4 separate regions of the Homo sapiens genome follow, and regions 1, 2 and 3 are each linked to region 4. The links are contacts of gene promoters, found by promoter capture Hi-C in blood cells and fetal thymus (Javierre and others, 2016). All regions are on one chromosome and are shown on one strand. Each heading gives the region's core, a stretch centred on a gene start or on the middle of the fragment in contact. The rest is flanking DNA. Distances are from core to core; before and after follow the strand shown.

Evidence for each region. The method cuts DNA at HindIII sites, captures the fragments that hold promoters and counts their contacts. A CHiCAGO score of 5 or more calls a contact.
Region 1: a contact is called between a fragment that was not itself captured here and the fragment with the promoter of PCDH17 in region 4, in 1 of 17 cell types (endothelial precursors). The highest score is 5.7, in endothelial precursors.
Region 2: a contact is called between a fragment that was not itself captured here and the fragment with the promoter of PCDH17 in region 4, in 1 of 17 cell types (naive B cells). The highest score is 8.2, in naive B cells.
Region 3: a contact is called between a fragment that was not itself captured here and the fragment with the promoter of PCDH17 in region 4, in 1 of 17 cell types (endothelial precursors). The highest score is 7.5, in endothelial precursors.

The regions. Positions count from the first base shown.
Region 1 is chr13:59,906,213-59,909,305 of GRCh38, reverse strand. All of the region lies in intron 20 of DIAPH3 (diaphanous related formin 3), which reads left to right. Among named protein-coding and RNA genes, the nearest start is that of DIAPH3-AS1, 100 kb to the left of the region's middle. The HindIII fragment of the contact is 2,085 bases long and covers 427-2,511 here.
Region 2 is chr13:60,430,955-60,433,812 of GRCh38, reverse strand. The region is part of intron 1 of TDRD3 (tudor domain containing 3); the gene reads right to left. It overlaps LOC124903178 (a long non-coding RNA gene), which reads left to right and starts at 1,593. Exons shown (of 3, transcript XR_007063814.1): 1 at 1,593-1,648; 2 at 1,774-1,909. The HindIII fragment of the contact is 7,370 bases long and covers 1-2,858 here.
Region 3 is chr13:59,680,172-59,683,002 of GRCh38, reverse strand. The region is part of intron 27 of DIAPH3 (diaphanous related formin 3); the gene reads left to right. Among named protein-coding and RNA genes, the nearest start is that of DIAPH3-AS1, 330 kb to the left of the region's middle. The HindIII fragment of the contact is 6,478 bases long and covers 1-2,831 here.
Region 4 is chr13:57,630,412-57,633,274 of GRCh38, reverse strand. PCDH17 (protocadherin 17) reads right to left here and starts at 1,531. Exons shown (of 4, transcript NM_001040429.3): 1 at 1-1,531. The coding sequence starts at 728. RefSeq lists an enhancer at 345-1,024. The HindIII fragment of the contact is 2,681 bases long and covers 1,338-2,863 here.

The sequences.
Region 1 (3,093 bases), core at 220-2,719, 2.3 Mb before region 4:
GTCTGAAATTTTCTGTACTCCTTTCTAGATTAAAAACCTTTGCTAACTTACTAAAGAATGATGTGTTTTCAGTTTATCAACATTATCAATAATACAGTAATTTGATGATTTTAAGAAATTGGTTATAATTGCCAAGTGTATTTCTGTAAGACTTCCATAATAATGTTTCATTTTTAAAGTAATAAACTTTTTGAAGTGTTTGTATCAAAAATGGGCAATTAACTTGAAGTGAATTAAACTCCAGATTTCTACAAGACATCCTTGCCTTAAAAACATGTTTACTTCTTGATTTAGCCTAGATTTAAAGTACATTAGAAATGTGCTAATCATCTTTACCTGAAAAATCATCACACAGTTAGATATAAGAAAAAGTCAAGAGTTTGGGGTAGTGTTAGTGCTTTCCCAGCTCCAAATAGGACCAAAGCTTGACTTTTCATTTGTTTTTCACTGTAGAAAAATTAGCTCTTAACTCTTTCATCTTTAGGTTCCGTAGACTGATGTTATGATTTCTAGCATTTTCATTTGAACAAAAATTAGTTAAAATTCTACAGTTTTTACTTGCCACTAAGTTTAAGTTTTCTTTTATCCAGTTATGTGAATTCATTAATTTGATTCATATTAATTACAATTTTTTCTGAAAGGTTGTGTTTTATTTAAACTGATACCCTAACTTGAGACAGTAGATTAAATTCAGTCAAGTTGCTTGCATTATATAATCAACTTTAATTCTCCATAAGAATTAGTTAAAAAACATAAGATGTAGCTCCACCAGGATATTGATGTTTATGTTATTTTCCTCTTTGATAGAAAGGCAGGGTGTAAAAGTAAGACATCTAAAATATTAGTAACCAATGTCAATTAAGGTCAATTAGCATATATCAGAAATAGTTTGTATACTGGAAATGTCTTACTTTTTTTTTTTTTTTTTTTTTTTTTGAGACAGAGTCTAGCTCTGTCACCAGGCTGGAGTACAGTGGCACGATCTCGGCTCACTGCAACCGCCTCCTGGGTTCAAGCGATTCCCCTGCCTCAGCTACCTTAGTAGCTGGAACTACAGCTTGGTGCACAACACCAAGCCCAGCCAACTTTTTGTATTTTTAGTAGACATGGGGTTTCACTATGTTGGCCAGGATGGTCTTGATCTCTTGACCTTGTGATCTGCCCACCTCGATCTCCCAAAGTGCTGGGATTACAGGTGTGAGCCACTGCACCCGGCCATATGTCTTACTTTTATCATGTATCACTTAGATACAGTTTTCTAGGGCTCTATATCCTGTAGAGTATGGTATACAAATTTACTGTGGGAATTATGTCAATTTCTATTAAATTGTATATCCTTGAAACTTCTAACCACTAAACCATGTGATGTGCCTAATTTTTCACATTTTCTGTAATATAGACTTTCATGTTCATATTTATGTCTCTGTTGAAATTGGAAGCAAAATTATTTAATGCTGATATTACCTCTCTTTCTAATTAAGTCATAAATGTATATGTAGTAGACATGGATACTTTTTGTGGTACTCAGTTCTTAGTTGTTCATCTGTCACTTATATAGTAATTCAGAAACTTAAGTTACCTTCTTGAACTGATCTCCTTGTGGTTCTTGTCACTGGACATGCACTCATTTGATCAGGATAGCTCTCAAGGTGTTCTAGAGCTGATTATCCATGAGTGGGGTAAAGTAGTGCTGGTAACATGTGGTCGTAAGTTGGCTTGTACCTATTAGGATTGAAATCCAGTTATATGATTTCAAGGCCTTAGAGCTTAATTATATTATTGACTTTTTTTTGTAGATGATCATATATTTATATGTCCTGTGTTTTCTAGGAGATTTTGGTATATGAAAAGTAACACATCAAAAATCCAATAAACTCTCATTTAATGCTAAAAGACTAAGGATCCTGGCCAAATGGTGTTTTAGAGGAGTGCCCTGAGAGGTGGTCTATCTCTGTATCTTTTTATAGTGGCTTGTAATGAATAAGGCCATTTACATGCTGTTTTTGTTGGTTTAGGTTCTGGGCAGAGGACACTGAATACTGACTGATGTGCTTAATTTGAAATATTCTTTTCCCTGGACAGTCCAGGACAAAATTTTCTTGTGGAGAAATTGGTGTATATTTGAGAGGCAATAGCCTCCTCTTTTACTCAGCTTAATTTTCTATCACTAGATTAACAAATGAAAATATACTTTGTCATTAATTGGAGTCATTGCTTGTGTCTCTTCTTGGATTCTTTCCATCCCTGTTTATCCCCAACACCTTCTCGTCCATCTTTCCAAAATATTACCTACTTACCAAGGGTTGATTCCGATGGAGTAGAGCCTGACTTTAGTTTTATGACTGCATTTCTTGTATTTGTAGGCTTTCTTTGATCAATAAGCTATTAGGTAAAATCACTGTGTTCACAGTGGCATGCTTTAACTGTGAGAAATGATTTATGTAAATATTCAGTGGGATCAGAAGATTAGCTGAAGTTTGGAAAGAGGCCTAAAAATTTGCAGTTGAAGCTTGGTGTACTAGACTTTCTTTGATTAAAAATTCTAGGTTTTTGAGTATTTGTCTCCACGTTATTTAATTCTGTTAAGCTTCCTGTTCTTCAAAGAAATCAAACATTTATAGGAAGATTGAATCGAACAAATGTCCTGTTTGTGTGCTGTATTTTGATCTACCACCATTTGGTGTCACTGTAGGGCAGGGCTTTTAAACTTTGTGCAGCTGAGGCCTTTTTAATGAAAAATGTTGTAGGAAATTCGTGCATATCTCCCTGCATTAAAAATCCCTCGCTTTAAAATACATCATATATTCTTGTTGTAAAACATTCAAATAACATAGAAATATTGAATACAATGTAGATGTCCCCCGTATCCCACTACCTCTTTTCATTCCACACAAATGATCATTTTTAACAATCTGTTGTACTTCTAATTCCATTTCTGTGTATTTACCAATGTATGCATGTTCACGTGAACATTTTAAAAAATCCATTGTTCTGAAACTTTTTGGCTGTGTCATATATTTTGAATATGTTTTTCATGTTGTACTGTTTTTAAATTCGTGCATTTTATTTCATAGCCCATATTATGATTTTTCC
Region 2 (2,858 bases), core at 1-2,500, 2.8 Mb before region 4:
GGCAAACTACACATCAGCTGACTGAGCTAAAGGGGGCAGCCATGTCTGCACGAGGACTAGTAAAGCAGTTACTGCGTCAGATTTGATTTTTAGCTTTTAGATTTCCGTAAAGCAGTGTACAAGCCAAACAAAACAGGGCTCAGCCTGCATGTGGTACATGTACTTTGTACTTATTAAACACATTAGTTTATTTAAATTATTTGCTCCTGTTCACTTCCAAGTTGTCTCTGACATACAGTGTTGTGCCGTAAGTGTACCTCAGATAGTATAACATTCATAGCCAACTTCCTTTCCAAGCAAGAAAAGAACCAAGTATCTTTTAGGTCACTTTGTACGCACTGGGAGAGCAAAGAACACAATTATGCCTGTAACAAATGTTCTCTGGTGAGTTGTTTACATCACACTAAAAAGTATCAAATCATTCAGTCTGGTCATTGACATAAATATTTTACAAACTGGACATATAAAGAACCCATGCTTACTTCAGACTTTGAGGACTACTTATATTTTTAAGGAGGAGGAATGTTTTAATTGGCCAGAAAGTGAGCCATAAAAGCAAACATTAAAGTTTTATTCTCTTTTACCCACTGCCACCCATTGAAATAATGAATGCCCATTCAAATCTGAACTGCAACTTGACTTCCTGAAATAATAAAATACAGAATTATTGCACATTGATATAAACTGGGCTGATGACACATGAAAAGTCTTTAAAATGCCAATGAGAAAACCAAGAGTGAAAACATTCTTCACAAATGGATAGGGACTATGTCAAAAAAAATAAGAAGATATCTGGACAGTGACTGGTACATGGTGTTCTTAATTGCCCCTGAATAAAACCCAAATCAAATGGCTTCATGCAGTTTTTGGGGTTCTAACCTACACCTGATTATCTGCTACCACACTGAGGTTACTAGCCCCCGCACATGATATCCAAATACCAAAATGGGAGTTTGATAAATGAATTCTTGCTTAGCCACAAAGAAAATAAAGATAACTAATTCCCAATTACCCAAGCTAAGGTGGGACAAGAGAGGGAAAAAACATAAAAGATAATTTAAAAAATAACTTCTATTAAAGGATATTTTTGATCTTAGCAAATATGGAAGTAACTGACCTACTGCAAATTCCCAAAACTTCAATGTTGTAAAGATATTTTTTAAAAATTACCCATACGAAGATCTCTCTGTTCACTCTGCCTAAACTGTTTCTCTCTCCATAGTGTAAATTGATTGTAATACACCTGCCAAAAATTTGTTTTATATATTATTCTTATAGACTCTTACTATACTATACCTAGTCAGAGACACTGAAAGAATTAACTTGCCAATTCCCTCCTCTAGGGCAGAAGGAAAATGGCTTGAAAGTTCTTGTTTATGAATATAACTTGGGAAAATACAGTATTTTGCCATAATGAATAACAAGATTAGTAAGGTAAAAATGCTAGTAAGAATTGGGGCACAAGATTTTCTTCAGATAACCTGTTAAAAATAAAATCAATATATTCAATACAGCTTACAGATATATTGGAAAGATAGCACATGAGAATATAAAATGGAACACCAGCAGTTAGTTGAATGAATCCATGAATTCCATGGCAAAAGCTCTATTAAGCATAATAAACAGAAGGATCAGAATTCTACAAAAGGTAATTCAGAGGAGTGAGTACTATGAAAAATGGTGGAAAATGAAAAAAGAGGTCTTTTATTTTGTTTCCCTTAACAACTAAGTACCTCTTCTATTAATATTACCACATTTTCTTTTCTTGTCTAGGCAAAGTAGCCACTTCCTATCCCACATTGAATACCACAATCTGTATTCCAACAATTAAACCAGGACTTGAATCAATGCTAGCTTAAAAATTTAATTTTCTCTGTGGCTTATATATAAATGGATCAGATAAATAAAGGTACGTACTATTTAAAGTACTTCTAAGTACCAGCATGTAGTGTTAATCTTAATGTAGTAAACTACTTTCAATATAAGATTTATTTTACTCATTAATCAACTATCTATTAATATGCATTATTTTTTCAGTTTTTAGTTTTTATGATTTCTTTGCCATCATAAATATACATTAGTTCCACCTTTTTTTTTTTTTTTTTTTTTGGTAAAGATAGTCTTGCTTTGTTGCTCAGGCTGGTGAAAGGATTAATATGCAAAAAAAAATTTTTAATTACTTAACACTATTTAAGAATCTTCTTCTAAATAAACAACTTCTGATGATGCAAAACAATATGAAATGCCTTGATATCATCATGGTTAACATCCACACTGGTCAAATATCAGTATTTCAGTAGCCAAACAAAAAATTTATTTTAAAAATTGAGATGGAAATTTAAAAAATTTCTAGGGAAAATCCTTTGTAAGTTTATATCTAATTTAACAGTATTCAAAAGTGTTTAAATTCTGAAAAGTTAAACCTAGATAGCTTTTTGTTAAGCACTTCCTTTAAAAAGCTGAAGACTATCAGCTAGCTAATTGTGAAAGCTGTACTACTTGAAAGCACCACTAGATGACAACCTTGTTTCACAAGTAAAATATTATACTCCTGTTGAAGCTAAGACCCTGAAGAGATACTAAACTAGCTTAAAGGTTTCTGACATTTGTTTTTTGTTGGAGAGTAGGGATAACAAAGAAAATAAAATAGACTACTATAATTTTGAATTTGTGTTTGATATAAAGATCACTCAGGGTTTAAAAAAAACTCATTTAGTAAGCATTCAAGAAATACCTCACCATTAGATATATTAAGACAATTTTCTCTTCCCGTCTCTTCTACATCTATATCGTCTGGAAATAGATGATTTTATAAAAATAAAGTACACATAAATTATTACAGACTAATGCTTTTTTGC
Region 3 (2,831 bases), core at 258-2,757, 2.0 Mb before region 4:
ATTGTCCTCTTGAATGTAGAATCTTATGATGAAATATGACACATCTGCATTAAAGTACCGCTTTTAACACAAAGAATGGGAAGTACATAGACTCTACTTTGAATAGTTTATGGTCATCACTAGACTTGAGTATGAGGCAGGGGCACAAAAAACTACAACACCAGGCTAACTAGGATACAAAACATATGAGAGAAATACAATACAAGTTGGCATCGCTATGTTTTGGAAAATCAGGAGGTCATATTTGATTGAGATTTGAGGGATGAAAGATTATTATAGACAATGATTCAGACTAGGGAATAGGGTATTCCTTGTTATACAGACAGTTTTATGCAGTATTATATATAGAGTTTAATGCAGTATTTTATATAGAGTTTTCTGCATAAGTACAGCTAAAAAATTTAAAGGCATTTTAAGAAACTGCACTATTTCCTAATAGAAGAATAGTGTCCTAAAGCATAGCTTGCTAGTGAGAGAAAACTATATGCTAAAACTTTAACCTTTAAAATAGATTGAAGCCAGGCATGGAGGCTCACACCTGTAATCCCAGCTACTCAGGAGGGTGAAGGGGGAGGATCACTTGAGCCCAGGATTTTGAGGCTACAGTGAGCTATAATGGTGCCACTGCACCCCAGCCTGGGCGACAGACAAGACCCTGTCAATAAATGATTATTAAATAAATAATAGAGCAAGATTTTTGTGGTTAGCTCATTTTTGTTAAAAAAGAAAACAACTGAAAAATAATTTTATGACTCTGGACCCTTCGTACAAATTGGGTAGTATTTGTTAAAATGTGAGGATTTATGTATAATAACATCAAAATAACTAGCTTCTAATATTTTCCAATGTACTAGTGAACCTGGGCCATAAATTTTGCTGCTCTTGTCAGTAGATATACAGCAAAGATAAGTATGGACAGTACTCTGTACCATATAAGCAGAAAACCTGGAAATTAACATTCCTGGTTCTCTTTAACTAGAGAGCTAACTATATTTTTAGGATATTTGTCAGAAGCAATATCAGTAAAAATGAAGTGTCTCATAGTTTCTTTTTGGTTCATTGTACTGATATAGAAATACTTCCTGCTTCTTTTACAGCATTTACAGTTTAAAAATGTTATTAAAGTGCTATAGTTTGGAGCCAGGAGCTGAATTGGATTACTTGAGCTTGCATCAGAGCTCCACCCTAACTTGCCTCTTAATTAGAACAGGTTTCTTAATCCCACAAAGCCTCCTTCCTCATTGTGAATTAGAGAGTATAAAAATCATACTTTCTTAGGCTACATGATGATTTTTGTAAAGCACTTTGTGCAAACCTGGCACTTAGTAAGTGCTCTAACATACTAGTATTGTTTTTATAATGAGTCTTGTAAAATATAGCCTGAAATGGAAAAAAAAAACACTTAAAACAGTTATTTTATTAATAAGTTGGTGAGAAAGTGAACATAATTTTGTTATAACTAAATTTGAGTTCCTTATTTGTGGATTGTGTTATAGTTGAAAATTTTTTTTAATCTTTTTGTTTTTGAGAGAGGCTCTCACTCTGTTGCCCAGACTGGAGTGCAGTGGTGCAGTCATGGCTCACTGCAGCCTCAACCTCCCAGGCTTGAGTGATCCTCCCACCTCAGCCTTCCAAGTAGCTAGGACTACAGGTGTGTGCCACCATGCCCTGGCTAATTATTTCTCTTAATTTTTTGTAGAGACGGAGTCTTACTATATTGCCCAGGCTGATCTTAAAGTCCTGGTCTCAAGCAATCCTACCATCTCTGCCTCCCAAAAAAATGTTGGGATTACAGGCATGAGCCACTGAGCCCGGCATTTTGTTGTTTTTTTAACAAAGTATGTGTGATATGCCACATAATAAACCTCATTGGAAAGACAAGGAGTAACACCTCCCATTATAATAATCTTTAATAAGTAAAGCTATAACTAGGTACAATAAGATTTGTATATACCAGGAGAAAAAAGGCAAGAGATTAGATTAGATAAATAAAATGATTCAGATCGGAAGGTTCGTAAGAGTTGCATTACCAAATGTGTTTGGTAAAACTACAGAACACATTGCTTCCGTGTTCTACTCCAGACAGCGGTCTTTTCGTATCATGAGATTCCATCAATTGCAAAGGTTTCTAGATTCCATTATTGCAATGTTTTCCTTCCCCTTCCAAATAAAATGAAAGCCAATAGAGAAAAGTAGTACCATTGCAAAATCTAAGACCTTTAGAAATAGAATAATTAATTAATAAACATATTATTATTTTACCATAATAGTTGTAAATGAGTGTACTCTGTTCTATATTTTTTAAGTCACCAAAAGTTATTCAGGGAACTATAATGCCCCATCAAATTTAATGATTGGTGACAGGTGTAGCCGTCTGACCTCTAGTGGCTATAGCTTATAGCTGCATTTTCATTGATTGAGTTAAAAAAAAAAAAAAGACTAAGGAAAGAAGTCTTCTTAGATCCTAATAACAGGGTTCTGCAAGTAAGTGTATGATTAGCATCCCTGAAGTTCTGCTGGTCTAATTGTTGGGGTACTAACTACCTCAAGGAACAGAGGTCAGAACCAACTTCGTTAATCTATGAGTTTAAATGCTTGCAATGTGTCAGCAGATTCTGCCCTGAGGCCCAGCAGCCAAGCAATCTCTACAGCATTTTTTTAATAGGCATTCTAAAGTTCATAACAAGCTCTCAACACTGATATTCAACAACACGTCATAGGCTTGCATGAAATATTTTTAAAATCCTGATAGGATACATATGTATGACAATGTATGTTTTTATTAGATATCTATATGAATAATATATCTTTCCTAATGTGTAGGTGTGTGT
Region 4 (2,863 bases), core at 282-2,781:
AAGACCGGGCTGTTGTCGTTGGAGTCAATCACCTTCACGTTGATCTGTACGGTGGCGGAACGTGGAGGCTCGCCACCGTCCAGGGCAGTCAGCACGAGCGTATGGTGATTCTGTTGCTCGCGGTCCAGAGCCTTCTGGATGACCAGTTCTGGGAACTTGGTGCCGTCGCCGCGGGACTTAACGTCCAGTCCAAAGAGGCCGTGATCGTCGCGCGTGAGCAGGTAGGTGCGGAGCCCATTCTCGCCGGCGTCGGGGTCATGTGCGCTGGTGAGGGGGAAGCGGGTGCCCGGAGCAGCGTTCTCCGAGATGTCCATTTCGATCTGGTCCGAGGAGAAGGAGGGCGCGTTGTCGTTGATGTCCTGGATCTCTACCTTGATCATGCAGATCTCCTTGTCGTTGGCGAACACCTCGAGGGACAGCTGGCACTTGGCATTGTGGCGGCACAGGGACTCGCGGTCGATGCGCTGCTTGGTGTAGAGGAGCCCGCTGTCTGCGTCCACGTCCAGCAGGTGCGGTGCGGAGTTCTCCAGCACCCGGTAGCTACCCGACTTGCTGCGCCCTCCGCCGCCGCGCTCTGCAGGCGGAAGCCCAGGCTGCAGTCGAGCATCCCTGCCGATGTTCCCGATCACCGTGCCGGCCCCTTGCTCCTCCGGCACGGAGTAGTTGAGGTTCTTGAGAGTGAGGGCAGGGGCCCATAGAAGAAAGCAGCAACAGATGGAAAGGTACATCCCAGACCTGTAAGGTGGGGGCAGGAGCAATCGGACTGGAGGAGCCAGAGAGGGAGTGCGCGCCAGCCTGGGGCCCTGGCGCAGCGTGCGCGCGCGACGCGAGCCACAAGTCTATGGGTCCTTTTTTCCCTCTGCACCCGAGCTGCGGCACCCGGTGGTCTCTCCTTATTCTGCTCAAGTTCCCTGAACCTGTTGATCTACAGCATCCGCACTGGGTGAGAAGCTGCGGTGCAGCAGAGCTGCAGGGGCTTGGAGCAAGGCGGTGGCTTCCTGCGGCTGGGGGTGAGCCAGGGGTTTCGTCTCTCCCGCCCGGACTTCGGGAGGCTCAAACTTGAGCGATGAGGCAGGCGATAAGAAGGAAATCTCGTCTGGGAGAGATGATAATGAGCTAAAGAATCAGTAGGTTTTCCTCGCTCCCGCTAGGGTGCTGCAAATCTACTCCCGCCCGGAGACTCCGGAATACTCTTCACATCGAGTGGGGGAGGGAGCAGGGAGGTGTGTCTCTAGGCAGATCCGAAAGTGAAATTCTTACTTGCTGCTCGCCTCCCGTGATGAAATTGATGGGGATGAAGAGCAACGAAGACAGAGTCACAGATATATTTTGAAGCTTCCCCAGCGCACCGTGAAATGTCTGCTTGCTGCGCGGGCCGGTCTGTTTTCAGGCAGTGTTTTGCTGCATTTAGAGATCTAATCTTGCATTGCTGGCTGAGGCAGCGGCGGCGGCGGACTGCATCTACCAGCCAAGCGTATTTTTTTTTTCCTCTCTCTCCTTTCCGAGCAGCCAAAGGGAGGGGAGGAAATGCAGCGTAAAGAACTAGTGTCCCGATTTGTAGTTTCCTCTCCCCACCAGGCTCCTCCCTCTCTTCCTCGGAAAAGGCTCTCCCCCGAAATCAAGAAAGCCACAGCCTGATCAGCATTTGCTGTGTGAGTCTATTGGGAGGGGGGAAGTAGAGAGATAAATCTTCGCCTCTGTTCGTAGAACACACTCTCTGATTTCTCTACGCCAAGCCAGTAGCCTCCGCTACCATCCCATCCTCTCCCCGCGAGCAAGGACTTCTCTCCAAGCAGTTTAATTCCAGTTTGCTTTTCTTCCCAGGCGAAGGGAAATCAACAGGCAACTCATGGTTGGACGTGCACATTTAAAGGAGGAGGGGGGAGGCCGAATAAAAAGGAAGGGGGAGCCTCCCTCCCAGTCCTTGCACACACACTCTCCCTGTCTCTCGCTAGAAGGGAAACAGTCTCTGCATTCACAGGGCTGGGCTGTCAAGTGCCTCTTTTCTTTCTATTCAGCATCTCCTTCCAATAGCCCTGCCTCCCAGTCCTCTTCATCTAGAAAAGAAAACCTTGGCGAGGAATAAAAGTGATGAATATTTGAAGCAAATAAAGTACGTGTTTTTTTTTTTCCTTCAATTTTCTCTTATAGTAGGAGGAGTGGGCTGGATGAAAGCAACACATCAAGGTTTGGCGTGATGCATTCTGCAGTCTCTCTTTCAGTTTTTCTGGGCGACTCAGGGAGGGCAGGGGGTGCAGAGCTGCGGCCGCGGCGGTCCAGCCAGGGGCTCCTACCCCGGGGAGCTCCCTCCGAGGGGATGTTAGACACAGGTCTGTCTACACATTATTTCGGGTTCTGGAGGCGCCTCGACATACGGGAATGACACATCCAGAAATGCAGGTGTTCCGATCTGCCGGATGAGTCAGAAGCAGCGGAACGAATCGTATTCACTCTCGCCTCATGGTCCTCCCTTCACAGACATTAGTTGCGGCTTCTTCCTAACGCTTTCTCTGACTCAGTCTATAGAAAGAAAAACCAGATTCATGTTTTTGGGGAAAAAGAAAATGCAAGAGAAAAGGATGGAGGGAAGAAGGTGAAGCTGAATCTAGCAGCACTTTTACTCTACCTCTTTCTGCCGGAGTCCGAGGTTCTGGAAAACAAGGCGTCTGCTTTGCTAGGTGTATTGGTTTATTTATTTTGTTTATTTTTTTTAAACCTTTCCTCTTGGTTAGGCGAGAGGTACCCCGAAATTTTTCAGAGTCTTGGAAAAGGAAAAACAAAATCAGGTTTCCAGTAATTGTTCCCAGCTTAGCCTCGCATCATAGTTCAAGATTTTCCTCTCAATTTTTTCTATTCACAAAGT